Regions from separate parts of the Homo sapiens genome. Here region 1 is linked to region 2. The links are contacts of gene promoters, found by promoter capture Hi-C in blood cells and fetal thymus (Javierre and others, 2016). All regions are on one chromosome and are shown on one strand. Each heading gives the region's core, a stretch centred on a gene start or on the middle of the fragment in contact. The rest is flanking DNA. Distances are from core to core; before and after follow the strand shown.

The links. The method cuts DNA at HindIII sites, captures the fragments that hold promoters and counts their contacts. A CHiCAGO score of 5 or more calls a contact.
Region 1: a fragment that was not itself captured here is called in contact with the fragment with the promoter of DNAL1 in region 2 in 6 of 17 cell types (M2 macrophages, M1 macrophages, erythroblasts and 3 more); the score reaches 10.2 in M2 macrophages.

What each region holds. Positions count from the first base shown.
Region 1 is chr14:73,864,123-73,870,242 of GRCh38, reverse strand. All of the region lies in intron 3 of PTGR2 (prostaglandin reductase 2), which reads right to left. Among named protein-coding and RNA genes, the nearest start is that of PTGR2, 15 kb to the right of the region's middle. The HindIII fragment of the contact is 4,552 bases long and covers 1,000-5,551 here.
Region 2 is chr14:73,641,996-73,647,896 of GRCh38, reverse strand. It overlaps DNAL1 (dynein axonemal light chain 1), which reads right to left and starts at 2,911. Exons shown (of 8, transcript NM_031427.4): 1 at 2,855-2,911. The coding sequence starts at 2,857. The HindIII fragment of the contact is 7,204 bases long and covers 1-3,653 here.

The sequences.
Region 1 (6,120 bases), core at 2,026-4,525, 220 kb before region 2:
TGTGCCACTGCACAGAGCAAGACTCTATCTCAAAAAAAAAAAAAAAAAAGGTTGCTTAAGATTTTTCTATTTTTTAGAGTTGGGGTCTTGCGTTGCTGCCCAAGCTGGACTTGAACTCATGGCTTCAAGCCATCCTCCCACCTCAAGTCTCCCAAGTAGCTGGAATTACAGGCCCAAGCCACCATGCCCAGCTGATTCTTTTTTTTTTTTCTCTCTGAGACGGAGTCTCTGTCACTCAAGCTGGAGTGCAGTGGAATGGCACAATCTCAGCTCAATGCAACCTCCGCCTCCCCGGCTCAAGCGATTCTCCTGCCTCAGCGTCCTGAGTAGCTGAGATAACAGGCACATGCCACCACGCCTGGCTAATTTTTGTAGTTTTCGTAGAGACGGTGTTTCACCATGTTGGCCAGGCTGGTCTCAAACTCCTGACCTCAAGTGATCCGCCCGCCTCAGCCTCCCAAAATGCTGGGATTACCAGCATGAGCCACCTCGCCCAGCCTGATTATTTTTTTTAAAGGAATGAGGCATAGAGAATGTCTAGTGAAAGTATCCCAAAGTGATTTTTCTTCCTTCCTTTATGCAATTAACATTTAATAAACATTATGCTAGTCACTGGAGATACAGTGATAAATACGAACTTTGTTTTCATAAACTTTTTTTTTTTTTTTTGAGGCACGGTCTCACTCTGTTGCCCAGGCTGGAGTGCAGTGGCATGATCACAGCTCACTACAGCTTCGACCTCCTGGGCTCAAGTGATCCTCCCACTTCCCGGGCTCAAGTGATCCTCCCACCTCCCGGGCTCAAGTGATCCTCCCGCCTCAGCCTCCAGAGTGGCTGGTGCACCTTAACACTCACCTAATTTCCTTTTTTTGGTATTGATGGCATCTTTCTGTGTTGCCCAGGATGGTTTCAAACTCCTGGGGTCAAGTGATCCTCCTGCCTCAGCCTCCCAGTGTGCTGGGATTATAAGTATGAGCCATGGCACCCAGCCCATAAGCTTACTTTTTACTAAGGAAGACAGATAATCTAATAACTACACAAATGTAATTATTACTTTCAATTGGGATAAATGCTGAATGTCAAGAGGAAAATATCAAAGAGAGGTCTGGACTAGTCTGAGGGTTCAGGGTGATTTACCAAAGGAAATCTCTTTAAAGCAGGCATCTAGGGAATAACAGGGATTACCAGGTAAAGGGAAAGGAGTGGGAAGAGGCTTTTAGATAGAGGGCCAACATGTATGAAGGCTTGCTTTAATATGTACCTGGGACTCTGTTTTAACCAGGTATGGTAAAATGATAGATACGAAGACAACTGCCTTGAAAGAAGAATTTCTTACAGTTGCCGAGAGGGGAGGGCACAATATGCCAAGAAGGGTCGCATGGGGAAGCACAAGAGTTGGTCAAGAGGGCAAAGGAGCAAGGAAGAGCATGGCCCAGAGTCTTCTTTTTTTTTTTTAAGGAAGAAGTATCTTTGGTTTCCACAGGAAAGAACGGGCAAGGCAGGGTAGGTAACCTTGAGTATATTACATGACAGCTTTAATAATGTCAGAGGGCTCTGATATACAGGGGTGGTTCTTAAGTTGTGCAGCATCTGGCCCTGAGGTGATTTAAGGCAGGGGAGTGTGAGTTAGATAGAGGAGGAGTTTAGGGATATGGGCTTTGGATTGGTTGGTTTGTATATGAATGGCAAGACTCAAATGCAAGTTGTTATCTCTAAAAATAAGCAAATCCTGCCAGGGACAGTTACTCTAGGATTCACAAGCCCCCTAAGATGTCAAAACATCCTAAAATACACTAAATTAAAAACATGATTCATACAAAGATTAAGCAGAAGGGGGCACTGATGTGTTACAAAAGACAGACATCCACTGAGGCAACAGTGTGAGGGTAATTGGCAGGCTTCTCTGAGCCTGGACAGGTAAAGGAGTCAGGTTATGTAGCTTCTTTTTTTTTTTGAGACAGAGTCTTGCTCTGTTGCCCAGGCTGGAGTGCAGTGGCGTGATCTCGGCTCACTGCAACCTCGGCCTCCCGGGCTCAAGTGATTTTCCTGCCTCAGCCTCCCAAGTAGCTGGGACTACAGGCATGTGCCACCACGCCTGGCTAATTTTTTTGTATTTTTAGTAGAGACGGGGTTTCACTATGTTGGCCAGGCTGGTGTCAAACTCCTGACCTCAGGTTATCCACCCACCTCGGCCTCCCAAAGTGCTAGGATTACAAGCGTGAGCCACCGTGCCTAGCCCAGGTTATGTAGCTTCTTAGACCATGTCAAGGCTGATTGGTCTCAATTCCAAAACTAATGGGAAGCCATTAAACCACTTTAAGCAAGGTGACACAATTAGTTGCTGTTATAAGAAGAATCACTCTGGCATTCTGGCTGCAGTGTGAAAAATGGCTTAAAGGGGCAAAGTGTGTATGCAAGGGTACCTACCCCATTAGGAAAGAAACAACGGTGATTCAGACTAGGTAGACTTCCCTGGAATTACTAAGACATGGACTGAATTGAGAGGTATTTAGGAGGTGGGATCCACAGGACCTGGTAGAGGCAAAATTCTCAAGACTGTGCTTTCTAGCATGAAATGAGTAAGTAGACAAAATATTTACTTCCCTGGAGGAAAAAGAGGTTTTTTGGTTTTTGTTTTTGCTTTGAAGTTGGGAGTGTTCGAAGTGAAGATCATTAATTCAATTTATATTATAATCCTAGTTGTTCCATCATTTTTCCTCCCCTAAAATCTTTTTTTTTTAAAGACAGAAAGAAATTAATGAACACCCAAATAAGTAGAAAGACATCATGCATTCATGGATCAGTGTATTAGGATATTGTTTTCATCAGAATTCTCCAGAGAAACAGAACCAACAGGATACATACATATCTATGAAGAGATTTATTATAAGGTATTGGCTCATGCAGTTAGAGAGGCTAAGAAGTCCCATTATCTGCCATCTGCAAGCTGAAGACTCAGAAAAGCCAGCAGTGTGGTTCCAGTGAATGAGAGCAGGTAAGCTGACAGTAGAGATTCTAGTCCAGATCTGAAGGCCTGAGAACCAGGAACTCTGAGGACAGGAGAAGAATGATGCTCCAGCTTAAGCAGTCAGAGTTAGTTCAACCTTCTTCTTCTTCTTTTTTTTGTTTTTTTGTTTTTTTTTTTTTTTTTTTTGAGACAGAGTCTTGCTCTGTCACACAGGCTGGAGTGCAATGCCGCGATCTTGGCTTACTGCAATCTCCGCCTCCCGGGTTCAAACAATTCTCTTGCCTCAGCTTCCTGAGTAGCTGGGATTACAGGTGCCTGCCACCACACCCGGCTAATTTTTGTATTCTTAGTAGAGACGGGGTTTCACCACGTTGGCCAGGCTGGTCCTGAACGTCTGACCTCAGGTGATCTGCCCGCCTCAGCCTCCCAAAGTGCTGGGATTACAGGTGTGAGACACCGCACCCAGCAACCTTCTTCTACATTTTGTTCTCCTTAGGCCCTCAATGGACTGGATGATGCCCACCCACATTAGAGAAGGACATCTGCTTTTTTCAGTCCACCAATCCAAAAGCTAATCTCTTCTAGAAACACCCTTGCAGACACACCCAGAAATAACGTTCAACCAGCTATTTAGACATCCCATGGCCTAGTTAAGTGGACACATAAAATGAACCATCACAGAAGACAATACTCCCCAAATTGATCTACAGACTCAAAGCAATCCCTATCAAAATCCCTATCAAAATCTTCTGTGCAGAAACTGACAAGCTGGTTCTAAAGTTCATATGAAAATTCATGGGACCCAGAAGAGCCAAAACAATCTTAAAAAAGAAAAACAGGCCAGGTGGGGTGGCTCACACCTGTAATCCCAGCACTTTGGGAGGCTGAGGCGGGAGGATCACAAGGTTAGGAGATCAAGACCATCCTGGCCAACATGGTGAAACCCTGTCTCTACTAAAATACAAAAAATTGTTCAGGCATAGTAGCTCATGCCTGTAATCCCAGCACTTTCGGAGGCCGAGGTGGGTGGATCACCTGAAGGTCAGGAGTTCAAGACCCACCTGGCCAATATGGTGAAACCCCGTCTCTGCTAAAAATACAAAATATTAGCCAGGTGTGGTGGTGGGTGCCTGTAGTCCCAGCTACTCAGGAGGCTGAGGCAGGGGAACCACTTGAACCCGGGAAGTGGAGGTTGCAGTGAGCCAAGATAGCGCCACTGCACTCCAGACTGGCGACAGAGCAAGACTCCATCTCAAAAAAAAAAAAAGAAAAACAGATTGGAAGACTCACACTTGCTCATTTCAAAACTTATTACAAAGCTACAGTAATTAAGAGAGCGAGGTACTAGCATGACAGATATACAGATTGCTAGAATAGAGTTGAAAGTCCAGAAATAAACCCTCATATTTATGGTCAGTTGGTTTTCAACAAGAGTACTAAGACAAACCAATGAGGAAAGAATTATCTTTTCAACAAACAGTGCTGGTTCATGTCCCTTCGTGGTCAAATATTTCTGGTCTCTCTTAAAAAAAAAAAAAGTGCTGACACGACTGTATATTCACTTGCAAAAGAGTGAAGTTAGGTCAGGTGTGGTGGCTTGCACCTATCGTCCCAGTTACTTGGGAGTCTGAGACAGGAGAATCACTTGAGCCCAGGGAGTTTGAGATTGTAAAAAAGAATGAGTTGGGCCCTGTGATGGATAATTTTAGGCGTCAACTTGACTGGATAGAGGAATGCCTAGATGGCTTGTGAAGCATTGTTTCTGGATATGTCCTTGAGGGTGTTTTCAGAGGTAACTAGCAGGTGAGTCTGTGGACTATGTGGTGAAGATCTGCCCTCAATGTGGGTGGGCACCATCCATTCAACAAGGAGCCCAGATGGAACAAAAAAGCAGGTGAAGGACAAATTCTCTCTCTCTCCTGCAAAGCAGGACACCCTTCTTCTCCTGCCCTCTGACATAAGAACTCCAGGTTCTTCAGCCTTTGTACTCTGAGACTGCACCCATGGCTTCCTGGGCTCTCAGGCCTTGGGACTGACAAGTATACCAATGGCTTCCTTGGTTGTCGGGCCTTCCAGCTTGGATTGAGCCATGCTACCAGCTTCTCTGGTTCTCCAGTTTGTAGACAGCCTATCATGGGAACTCTCAGCTTCCATAATCTTGTGAGCCAATTCCTCTTATAAGTCCCCTCTCATATATATGTGTGTGCATGTCTGTGGGTGCATGCCTATGTGTGTGTTTGTGTTTCTGTCTCTCTAAAGAATCTTGATTAATACAGACCCCTTCCTCATACGCATACATAGAGTTTAACCCAAAATGTGTTACTGACTTAAATGTTAGAGCAAAACTATAAAACTCTTAGCAGAAAATATACGACTAAATCTTCATGACCTTAAGTGAGGCAAAGCCTTCTTAGATATGAGTCTGAAAGTATTGAAAGTATACGTGACAAACAAAAAAAGAGATAAATCGGACTTTATCAAAATTAAAAACTTTTGTGCTTCAATGGATACTATCAAGAGAATAAAAAGACAACCTACAGCATAGAAGAAAATATTTATAGATCATACATCCAGCAAGAAGCTTATATCAAGAATATATAAACAACTCTTACAACTCAGTAATAAAAACACAGATAATCCAACTTTTAAAATGCACAAGAAATCTGAATAGACATGTCTCCAAAAAAGACATGCAAATGACCAATAAGCACATTAAAAACATGCTCAACATTATTAGCCATAAGGAAATACAAAAGAAAACCACAAGGAGATATCACTTTACACCAACTAGAATGGCTATAACCAAAAAGACAGATAATAACAAGTGTTAGTGAGGATGTGGAAAACTGGAACCTTCACACACTGATGGTGGGATTGGAAAATGGTAAAGCCACTTTGGAAAATAGTTCGGTAGTTCCTCAAAAGGTTAAACATATACTTACTGTATGACCTAGTAATTTTACTCTTATGTATATACCCAAGAGAAACAAAAACACAGTCCACACAAAAACATATACACAAATGTTCATAGCAGAAGTATTGCTAATAGCCAAGTTGTGTAAACAACCCACATGTCCATCATCTGATGAACAGATAAGATACTGTATCCATACAATGTAACATTATTCAGCAATAAAAAGAAGTATAAACTA
Region 2 (5,901 bases), core at 1,662-4,161:
AAATTAAGTATACATAGACCCTATGACGGTACAATCCCACTCCTGGGTGTGTTTCCAAGAGAAATCTTTTGCATGGGTCCATAAAAAAGTATTTTCACAACACTGTTAGTAGAAAAAGAGTTGAAGCCATCTAGCTGTTTATTGCAGCAATATAAATTTGTATAAGGTTTAACTGGTTTTCCTATGGATAGAAGGAGTCAAAAACTCAAATGCCTGAAGGTCCTCATGGACTTAACTAATAAGTAAAACTGGCCAACTAAGGACAGGACTAGTGTAAAGAAGATAACCTCTACTCAGCTCCAGACAACTGTTAGCAGGTGGGACTTGGGGAAAAGAGCTACCCTAATACACCATACTTCTTCAAATTTAAAAACTCCATTGAGTAACACCTTTATTTTATGTATCATTAAGTAAGAAAAGATGCTGCCAGTTATAACACACTATATCTCAGTAATACGAAAATGTGAAAAAAAGTGTCCAATGGTGAAACATATTTCTTTTTCTTTTTCTTTTTCTTTTTTTTTTTTTTTTTGAGACAGAGTCTTGCTCTGTCGCCCAGGCTGGAGTGCAGTGGCTCAATCTCAGCTCACTGCAAGCTCCGCCTCCCGGGTTCACGCCATTCTCCTGCCTCAGCCTCCCGAGTAGCTAGGACTATAGGCGCCTACCACCACGCCTGGCTAATTTCTTTTTTTTTCTATTTTTAGTAGTGATGGGGTTTCACCATGATAGCCAGGATGGTCTCGATCTTCTGACCTCGTGATCCGCCCACCTCGGCCTACCAAAGTGCTGGAATTAAAGGTGTGAGCCACCGTGCCCTGCCCCAATATTTATTTTTCAAGAGAAATTGGAAATCTTGGTTTTAATGTGAAATATCATCATTTGAAGACATTGTCCTGAAGTGGCAGGTCATAAGGGGGAAAAAAAGACACTGAAAGATAAATTTTTTTAAATTGAAATACTATGTGGGTCAATATTTCTGGAGGGACCCAGGTCTGCTAGTTTGCAGACTAAGCCAGTTCTAAATACAGTCATGAGCTGCATAACAAGTTTCAGTTAACAACCAACCACATATAAGACAGTGGTTACATAAGATTGTAATACTGTAACTTTTCTATGTTTGTTTGTTTGTTTATTTGAGACAGGGTCTTGCTCTGTTGCTCAGGCTGGAGTGCAGTGGTGCGATCTCAGCTCACTGCAACCTCCACCTCCCAGGTTCAAGAGATTCTCATGCCTCAGCCTCCTGAGTAGCTGGGATTACAGCCACTCGCCACCATGCCCCGCTAATCTTTGTATTTTTAGTAGAGGCGGAGTTTCACCATGTTGGCCAGGTGGATCTTGAACTCCTGACCTCAGGTGATCTGCCCGCCTCGGCCTCACAAAGTGCTGGGATTACAGGCCTCTGGGATTACAGGTGTGAGCCACCACACCCTGGCCGCTTTTCTATGTTTAAATACACAAATACCTTGTTTCAACTGCCTACAGTATTCAGTATAGTAAAATGCTGTAAAACTTTGTAGCCTAGGAGCAATAGCCTACACCATCTGGTTTTTGTAAGCATATTCTATGATGTTTGCAAGGCAAAACTGCCAATAATGTGTTTGTTAGAATGTATCCCTGTCATCATTAAGTGACTTATAACTGTACTGGTTCTGATTCTCTATTTGAAGATTTTCAACAATCACCATGGTTCATACTTTCATAAATATTTAGGTCTGAGCCTTTCTTCACCTGAATATAAACCTAGGTTCCAGAACTTTTAACTTTCCTTGGCAGTGATTTTCAGCTAACTGCTTGGGGAACAAAGTAAGGAAAGCAGGGGGGAAACTACTTTTTAAAGAGTGGTATTTCATCTTGTTGAGGGCAGGCATGACTTCCTCATCATTTCCATCTCCTGGGCTCAATTTCTGCCCACTTATATAGCACTGGAATCACAAAAAGAAGACAAGTAATTATGCTTCTTCTTCATAAACATCTCTATCCAGTAGGACATCACATACTTTGCTCAATAGCTCTGGCTGGGTCTGCAATCCTTTTCAAACGACTAGTTAGAACTACCAAGTATGTAAGCAAGAGAGTGAACACATCAAGTAAGAGTTGAGGAGCATCTCTAGGTAAAACCATTACTTCATAAAGAGCTCTCATTGGATAGACAGCTGGTAGATTTCAAACCTAAGGCAACAGCATTTCTCAGTGTGGTGGGATGCCCTCCAATTTTATAATCACTTGAGGTGTGTTGTCGAAATGCACATTCCTGAAACCCCCAATCATATTAAAAATTCACAATCTGCATTCCAACAAGCCCATACCTATGCATACTGAAATTTGAGAATCACTGCTCTAATATATCCATCAGAGTGTGCTTTACAGTGTCACCTAATAACTGCCCTCGTAGTCATTCAGAAGGCAACCTGGGTACATCACAGGTTACGAAAACTGCTGCAATCCGTGTTATACAGAACCCTCTGGTAACCAGCCCCTCCCTGCATCTCGACGGGGGGGTCACTAAAATTACTTCTATGTAAAGAGATATCTTTATCTACACTCTCCTTCCCATCACCCTTCCCACTCCAATACGCTCTTTTTAGAGAATTTCCTGCTCTTCGCCCTCCCTTTTCTCCTGTCTGAGTCCCTCCACCTTAACCCAACCTCCGATCCACCCCAGGCCGCCCTCACCACAGACCACCCCCGGCCAGGGCTTCTCTTTCGCCTCGGGCCCCTGACTCCACAGAGCTAGCGTCAGCTACCGGCTCCCTTCCGCTGTTCAAGGACCCCCAGACCCTCAACACTCCACAGTCACCCTTTTCCACTCCCAATCTTCTCTCAGCTTTGGCTACGCGGCCCGAAAGGTACTCACCATTCCGGCGGTTGCTACTGTCACTGCTCTGGTTGCTAGGGCCCGCGGGGTCAGTGCGCGTGCGCACTTCTCGGCGCTCTCGGCGGAAGCCCTATCCCCGGCAGCGGTCCTTTCTCTCCGCCCTCAGGGTGGTGCGAGCGGGGCATTGTGGGACTGCGTGGCGGCCGCCGGGGTCCTCCCGTCCGGCTGTTGCTGGCTGCCCTTTTGCTTCCTTAGGTCTTAACCCCGCACAGGAGTAGTCAGGACCGAAAGCAATTTCAGCTGATCTGTAGTGACTTGTCCGCCTAAAGTTAAAAACCTTAAAACGTCCCCCTAACAACTACCCTTTTCATAAAATAATGTTCTTAATTCCTTTGCCCTAACGATGGCGTTTCCCACCCTTTTCCGGACGAGGGGAGAATAAGCGGCTTGCTGTAATTTCCCTCTCCATCCCATCCCACTGAGAATACCAGAGCCAAACTCCACCCATTTTATGTTTCTTTACCCCGGATCCTCCAGGGAGCCAGAGGCAGCTGAAAGCTCGGTTCCACATTTTAAATATCACAAATTGTTGGTTTTAATCACCAGGGTGTCTTTTTTTCCCCACCTACCAAATGAGCTAAAAATTATTAACAATAATAATAATTCATAGAGTTGCTAGGGGTATGGTGAAGTAGGGACACACAAATACGCTGCTGTTTATAATTGATACAGCCTTTCTGGAAGGCTGTTGGCTGTTCAAAAACTTTTGCACCCTTTGTGATCCAGCAGTTCCACTTCCAGGACTTTATCCTGAGCACAGAGATGTATGTTCAAAGCTTTAATAGAAAAAAAAAAATCAACTCAATTATCAACAAAAGAGAATTGGTGGCCGGGACTGGTGGCTCACGCCTGTAATCCTAGCACTTTAGGAGGCTGAGGAGGGCGGACCACTTGACCACTTGAGCCCAGCCTGGCCAACATGGTGAAACCCCGTCTCTACTAAAAATACAAAAATTAGCCGGGTGTGGTGGCACGCGCCTGTAGTCCCAGCAATTCCGGAGCCTGAGGCACGAGAATTGCTTGAACCCGGGAGGCGGAGGTTGCAGTGAGCCGAGATCGCGCCATTGCACTCCAGTCTGGGCAACAAGAGTGACACTCCGTCTCAAAACAAACAAACAAACAAACAAAAAGAGAGAGAAAATTGGTTAGTAGTATTGAACATCCAATGCAATAATGTACTTACACTAAAAAAGTACAATTGACTTGCTGAAAGGCATCTATTCACATCCAAAGATAGTCATATTTCAAGTAAAAATAGAAGTTACCAAACAAAATAGTTGGTACGATTTTCCTTTAAAATTATACATAGTGGCCTGGTGCAGTTTGTTCATGCCTGTAATCCCAGAAATTTGGGAGGCCAAAGTAAGAGGATCCCTTGAACCCAGGAGTTCAAGACCAGCCTGGGCAACGTAACAAGACCCTGGCTCTGTAAAAAATAAAAATTAGCGAGGCATGGTGGTACAACACCCATAGTCCCAGCTACTGGGGAGACTGAAGCAGGAGGATCATTTGAGGAGTTTGAGGCTTAGGTGAGCTCTAATTGTGCCATTGCACTCCACCCTGGGCAACAGAGCCAGACCCTGTCTCTAAAACAAAAAACAAAGCAAAAAAATGGAAAAGTTATACATAGTACACACACGTATATAAACATATATCTAAAAGGATATTATGAGGGTTTAATGTTTGCTGTGGACTGAGTGGTGGTACACCAAAATTCATATGTAGTGATCTGGTAAGTTTAAGTTCTTTGATACTTTCTGAGATGTCTGGGGGATACCTAAATTTTAAGCTTTAAAACCGGAAGGGTCAATTTCTATGTTTATTTTTTAAAAAACTGTCTATGGGACTATTGGATAGGTTTCAAAATCTTGGTACACTTCACATAAAGAACATTTTGAGTTCCAGATTCTCAAAGGTTAAAAACATTCACACAGAAAATAAAAGAATTATATAACTTGGACCCTTCTTTTGTTCTTTCATATCCTACAAAATGACAAAATAGATTCCAAAACCTGTTCACCAGAGAATGTGTGGGTCTGCTTGCTCTTATTTCAGGCCTGGATAAAATAAGTTGAAAGAAAGTTTAAAAATAGTATTGAAGGCCGAGCGTGGTGGCTCACGCCTGTAATCCCAGCACTTTGGGAAGCCGAGGCAGGCAGATCACCTGAGGCCGGGAGTTCCAGACCAGCTTGACCAACATGGAGAAACCCCGTCTCTACTAAAAATACAAAATTAGTTGGGCGTGGTGGCGCATACCTGTAATCCCAGTTACTCTGGAGGCTGAGGCAGGAGAATCGCTTGAACCCTGGAGGCGGAGGTTACAGTGAGCCAAGATCGCACCATTGCACTCCAGCCTGGGCAACAAGAGTGAAACTCTGTCTCAAAAATAAATAAATAAATAAATAGTATTGAAACAGTGTTCCCTAATTCAGAATATCTAGCAGACCCTTTGAAAAGTATAAGTAAAATAGTGTTAAATGATACAAAACAGAACCAAATAGAATATGTTAAGAAATCTTTAACTTTTAGGGCCTGACACAGTGGCTCACACCTGTAATCCCAGCACTTTGGGAGGCCGAGGCGGGCAGATCACTTGAGGTCAGGCGTTCGAGACTACCCTGTCCAACATGGCAAAACCCCGTCTCCACTAAAAACACAAAAATTAGCTGGGCATGGTGGCTCATGCCTGTATTCCCAGCTACTCGAGTGGCTGAGGCAGGAGAATTGCCTGAACCCAGGAGGCAGAGGTTGCAGTGAGCCAAGATTGCGCCACTGTACTCTAGCATGGGCGACAGAACGAGAACCTGTCTCAAAACAAAACAAAGAAATCTTTAATTTTTAAGCAAAAATGTGGACCAAACAAAAGAGAAGAAAAAATTGTCACATTTAAGAAATGAGTTAGAGATTAAGCAAAATAGTTAAAAGTTACATACCTTAAAATTGTAAAGAACTTAAACCCTAGGATAGGCACTAATTCTTAAGGTTGTTTATATAATAGAGAAGTTTATCAATTCAAATTAGAATTA